Regions from separate parts of the Homo sapiens genome. Here region 2 is linked to region 1. The links are contacts of gene promoters, found by promoter capture Hi-C in blood cells and fetal thymus (Javierre and others, 2016). All regions are on one chromosome and are shown on one strand. Each heading gives the region's core, a stretch centred on a gene start or on the middle of the fragment in contact. The rest is flanking DNA. Distances are from core to core; before and after follow the strand shown. Region 1 holds the start of PSMG1 (proteasome assembly chaperone 1). Region 2 holds the start of SH3BGR (SH3 domain binding glutamate rich protein).

Evidence for each region. The method cuts DNA at HindIII sites, captures the fragments that hold promoters and counts their contacts. A CHiCAGO score of 5 or more calls a contact.
Region 2: a contact is called between a fragment that was not itself captured here and the fragment with the promoter of PSMG1 in region 1, in 7 of 17 cell types (naive CD8 T cells, total CD8 T cells, total B cells and 4 more). The highest score is 9.9, in naive CD8 T cells.

What each region holds. Positions count from the first base shown.
Region 1 is chr21:39,182,033-39,184,871 of GRCh38, forward strand. PSMG1 (proteasome assembly chaperone 1) reads right to left here and starts at 1,419. Exons shown (of 7, transcript NM_003720.4): 1 at 1,220-1,419. The coding sequence starts at 1,353. It also overlaps a transcript of BRWD1 not described here. RefSeq lists silencers at 1,095-1,174, 1,375-1,594. The HindIII fragment of the contact is 4,125 bases long and covers 1-2,839 here.
Region 2 is chr21:39,449,940-39,452,883 of GRCh38, forward strand. All of the region lies in intron 8 of GET1-SH3BGR (GET1-SH3BGR readthrough), which reads left to right. It overlaps SH3BGR (SH3 domain binding glutamate rich protein), which reads left to right and starts at 2,031. Exons shown (of 7, transcript NM_007341.3): 1 at 2,031-2,202. The coding sequence starts at 2,158. RefSeq lists an enhancer at 1,473-2,011. The HindIII fragment of the contact is 9,000 bases long and covers 1-2,944 here.

The sequences.
Region 1 (2,839 bases), core at 169-2,668:
GATAACCAACAGATAAAACTATTGCATACGTGTTTACGGAGAACTCTAAAATAGTGATCAGGCTGTCCACCTGACCCAAGAACCAATCTTAGCATCCCTAAAAGTGAGACAGCTGGGGATAGCCTGCAATAAGAAACAGAAAGCACCACTTAGTAGAAGCATTCTTGCCGACAAAACTTTGAATGAGAATCTGACCAAGCCTCCAAATGAACATTCATTTTACAGGACATGCAGGTGATACAAACGTTAAGTGACACCACAACGAAGCTATCAGACAAATTCAGAGTGTGGGGGCACTGGACAAGACAATCAGTCCTGTCTCTTAGGAGGGGTAAGAGGAGGTTGCTCTAAATGAAGTGACACGTCTAAATGTAACCTGTGGACCCTGTTAGGATTCTCATTCACGCAGACCACTGTAAAATGTCATGTTTGAAAAAACTAGGTAAACGTGAGTGAGCATGGACTACAAAATGATACTGGAAAATTAGTATTAGTGTTGTTAGGGGTGATAATAGCATATGTAAGAAAATCCCTAAAACGTTTGAGATGTATTCTGAAAAATGTAGAGGTGAAAGGCCATGATGACTGGAATTCGCTTAGGAGTGGCGGGAGAGAAAATAAACGTGGCAAAATCTTCCTGTTGAATTTACCCGGTTGTGTAGGGGTCAGGGCTCACTTGACTATTTTCTCCCACTTTTTTGTGTTTGGAAACAATTTTTTTAAAGCGTGTTCATCGGCTACTGACACATCATGCTAATTGAAGTGTTGGGTGCAGGTTTAAAAAGTTTCGAGGGAATTGGTGTGTCCGTGAACAATCCACGACAAACGTGGTGGGGCCCGCGGGAGCGCTGCGGCCCAAGACAGTGTGACAAGCGGGAAGATCACGAGTCCGCAAGACACCAAGCCTCCAGAAATGCTCCAGAAACGCTCCAGAAAGCCTTTAAAGAACGGATTTGAACCCAGCCCTCCCACAGCGGCTTCACCCTGGACTCCACGAAACGCCAGCAGATCCACGCGAGAACCACACACACCTGGGGCTGGCGCCGCTGGACGCCGCGGCTTCACGGAGACCCAGGGCCCAAGCAGAGCCAAGGAGCGGCGGCAACCGCGGGGGCCACTCGGAAGACCGCGGAGCCCCGGCCTTAGGCGCCGTCGCGGCTGCCAGGCCCGCGCACCTTCCAGCTGCGGTGAGCGCGCTGCCCTTATCCCGGTGCCTCACCTCTTCCGCGCCAGCTGCAGACGCACCTCCCTGTCCTCGGGCGTCTCCCTCCGCCCCTCCTCCTCCTCCTCTTCGTCCTCAGTCCCAGCTCGGCACGGCGCCTTCACCACCTCTCCGAAGAACGTGGCCGCCATAGCCGCCCCGTGACCGGCTGGACACAACTGCAGCGCCGCGGGACCGCACGCCGGCTTGCGCGAGACCACGCTCCCTCACCGCGCGGGCAATAAGTCCCGCCCCGCACAGGCCACGCCCTCCGCGCACAGCCCAAGCTCGCGGCCACACCCCCACCGCGCGGGCGCTACGTCCCGCCCCGCACAGGGCTCGCTCCCAGGCACACCCTGAGCTCGCGGCCACGCCCTCTACACCGCCCGCCCGCGCTGTCATGCCCTGGGCCAGCAGTCCCCGCAGCTTTTTTGTTTTTAAATTACAGATTGGGGGAGGGGGTCTCGCTATGTTGCCCAGACTGGTCTCGAACTCCAGGACTCTAGCGATCGTCCTCCTTAGACCTCCCAAAGTGCTTGGATTACAGGCCTCAGCCACCGCGTCCGGCCCCCAAAGGCTTTCATTCGCAGCTTGAGCCCTGCGGGCGCCAGGAGGTGGGAGGACTGCGGGCTAGAGGGGCAGGGGGCGAGAGGAGGGCGGGGCCTCCGTTCGTGGCGGTAGCGGAACCAGGGGTGCAGGGGCGGAGCCAGCGCCGCTGGCCGTGGCGTCCGGGAGCTGTGGGGCCGTCCCCTCATCGTCCGTTTCCATTTTCCTTCTGCGTTAGGAGAGACTGGGGTAGCATTAGTGTACTGAGCACCCGCTCCAAATTTCGACTGCCCAGGTAGGTGGCGGCGCGGTGGTACTGAGGGCCCCCGTAGCCAGGCGCGCCCTCAGACAGCGGGCACGGGCGGACGCAAGGGCAGCAAGAAATACAGCGCTTCGTGGTGGTATAAAAACGAGACCTTTACTCTGGCAATAGGAATTCACATTTCAAAAGCTGATGATTGTCAAGGCGATTTAAAAAACATTTTTATGAGTGTAAAAAATAGTGTTTTAAAGTTGGCCATTTTCTAATACAAAATGTTTCTTTTTAAATAGCCTTTAATAAGCAGAATGTGTGATTGTTCTTTAATTGGTTCTCTTTAAAATGTGCTGGAAGACAAAGTTCGAGGAGCACTGTTTCAAGCAAGAGAAAAAGGGGACATAATTTAAATGAAAATGAAAATATGCAGTAATGCAATGAAAAAACCGTTTCCTAGATTTAGTTGTACCGAAATACATGACATCGCCTGCATTTTGTGACTTTGTCAGTAGTCACGAAGGTAAGTACTACTTTGGGGTCAGAGAGAGCCTGTTGAGATAAAATCTCAAAGCTGTTAGAAACATTTTAAGATGTGGAAAGATAATCAACAAAATCATTTACATAAAATTAGTACTTAGCAGATGTACACATCTGCAAAAATAAAGTGAGTTTGGAAGCAAAATTTGAACATTTAGCAATAAAATTAAGACGAAATTGCTAGCCAGTAAGAGCTTAGGAAACTGGATATCCTTAGTGAGATAGAATAAACAAGATCACCACAATGATGTTTTAAAACATTAGGACTCCTGGGTTAACTGGTCTATTATGATGATGGA
Region 2 (2,944 bases), core at 296-2,795, 270 kb after region 1:
CCAGGGTTTGCAGATGGAGGAGGTGTCATTATTGAGGGCAGTTTTCACCTGATATAATCAAGAGATGCGTATTCTCTAGAGCACCTGAGAATCCAGCTATAGTTTATGCTACTAACTTACAAAGTCATTAGAAAATATGCCCCCACTTTCTTCAAGTAATATTTGGAGAAATATGGCATGCTTATGTGGCAGACTTTAAGGTGTGAAAATATATAATTGTATGAAAAAATAATACGTACTGTAGAAATTTTGAAAATGCAGAAAAGAAAAACTGATCTGTAATCCTTGGTGTGCTTTAAAATAAAATTTATAATTCTACTGACTTAAATTTGGGGAACCATTAATCATCTTCATCAAGGACCTTATTTTTGGAGCAGCTAACTTTGCATGTTGAAGCCAAAAGTTAAATGTTGGTAGTCACCTCAATCATTCATTGTGATGTAGGGGCATTTAAGCGATATTCCAGGAACTGGGATATTCCGGGGACTGGGATGTCTTTTCTCGTTGCAGGCACCTACCTGAGGGGGTGGGAAACATGCCTCTGGGGCTCTGGGACTCAGGTGAAGAGGGAGTACAGAAGCCTGGGAGATTCCTCTCTGCTTCGGAACGTCGGTGCCACCCAATCCATGATGGGCAGCAGGGGATTTTAAAAAGGGAGCCGGAGAACAGAGAGAGAGAGAGACAGTAAGAGACTCAGTTATCTAAGCTAAATATCCCCCAAGTGCTTCTTGAAAAACTAGCCCTTTGTCCCTAATGCCCTTGATCTTGATTTTGAAATCTATCAGAAGAATTTGCATAACTGGCATTTGGGCTTCTTTGCTAGATTTTGTATTCCTTTAATTTAATTTGTTTGTTTGTTTGATTTGGTTTTGTTTTAGAGATAAGGTCTTGTTCTGTCACCCAGGCTGGAGTGCCGTGGGTGTGATCATAGCTCACTGCAGCCTCAAACTCCTGGCTAAAGGGCTCAAGGGATCCTTCCACCTCAGCCTTCCAAGTCGCTGGAAATACAGATACAGGCGCCTGCCAACATGCCTGGCTGTTTTTTTTTGTGTTATTGTTGTTGGTAAAGTCGTACCTCAGTATGTTACCCAGACTGGTCTTGAACTTCTGGGCTCACACAATCCTCCTGCCTTGACCTCCCAAGGTGTTGGGATTACAGGTGTGAGACACTGCCCCGGACCTTCTCTAACTTTTAACACAATTCAAAATACCTATATAAATATTAACATGTATAAACACAAATATATATAAATAAACACAAAATACCTATGTAAACAAAGAGCCTGTTATAAACAGATTATTTTGGTTTTTTCCCCAAGCACTTTAAAATAGTTAATAAACTTCAAGTCAGTGACAAGTAAATAAAATAGTGAGACAATTGGCTTGTTGCAGCCATGAGTATTGAGAAGCCAGCGGCTATTTCCCTACCTCCCTGGATGTCAGTGAAACTTTAGATGGCCCATGGCTGGTCAGTTTCTGTTCTTTAGGAGAAACAGGTGGGAAAGAGAGCACACTGGAAACAGCCACTCTTAAAGGCATTTCTATTGTATGACAGTTTACTTAAAAAATTTTTTTTAACCTGCCAGGAAAAAAAACAAAGTTGCTCTTTACTTAAAGGCCTCTGTGGCTATTCTGACCCTTCCAGTTTATTTGTTTGCCAAAAGCCCTTTAAACCCAGCCTCCTCCTAGACTGAGGTGGTGTTTTCTGGGCTTTTCCAGCTCCCAAGAGCTCCTCCCTCACTTCTTTCGCCTCCTGCTGCTCTGTTACCGGGGCCCCACCTCCCTTGGCCCCAAGGCATCTCTGCACAGGTCTCCGATTGGTGCACAGCACAGCCTGGCCTTTTAGGGACTGTTGTCGCGCGTTTAAAGTGATAGGGAAAGGGTCCAGTGGCTGCTTTTATCGACCAATCAAATATTTTCCTGACAGATCCCAAAATATTCCTGGGCCAATGGAGGGAGGAGCCCAAGATGCCTCTGCTGCTCCTTGGAGAGACAGAGCCTCTTAAGTTGGAGCGGGACTGCCGGAGCCCAGTGGACCCCTGGGCTGCTGCCAGCCCCGACCTGGCACTTGCTTGCCTGTGTCACTGTCAGGATTTGTCTAGCGGCGCATTCCCTGACAGGGGTGTGTTGGGGGGAGTCCTCTTTCCAACTGTCGAAATGGTTATCAAAGTGTTTGTTGCTACATCTTCTGGGTCCATAGCGGTAGGTGTCTGGTGGACTCTTTCTTCCTATACTCTTTTCTGAATAACTTAGGGTTGGAAATATGGCCAACGTTGGCCTTCAGTTTCTTTTTTGCGTGTAGTCAGCTGTGGCTCTGCAATAAGTATGTGCGCCCTTTGCTTTCTGCATTTGATTTCATAGTGTTGAAAAAGCATGGAAAGGGTGTAATCTGGATGGCTGGGTGTGAAAAGGGATTCGAGTAAGGAGGCGTGCTTGACACTAGAATTTTTAACATGTGATTTGTGTTGTGTTGCCTTGTGAATATCATAGAAGCAGGGACTTTTTTGTATGTGTTTCTGCCATTCATTCTGCAAGGCTTAAACTAATTTAAAATTGTAAATAAATGATACTTTGTGTAACACTGTTTGGAGCGGATGATGAACCAGATTGCTAAAATGACTCTGGGGTGTAATCACTTGTATATGCCATGTAATGATGTAACCATACTGAAAGTGTAAAGTTAGCATGTGTAATCCATTGTTTGAGGAAAGTGATGTCACAGTGACCAGAGCAGACATCTCTCAGGCCACAGTTATAAACACTCCAGGCATTCAGACGGCCCCAAAATAAGAGCTGAAAGCCGACCTTCATAACCAGTGCTTTGTCTAATTTTCTTGAGACCATCTACCTCTTCAATTCTGGCCTTCATTCTGTGCAAGCTGGACCTGCCGTAAGAAATAGGGGTGATGAAGTGACACATTTCTCTTTGGAAATGGGTCAGACT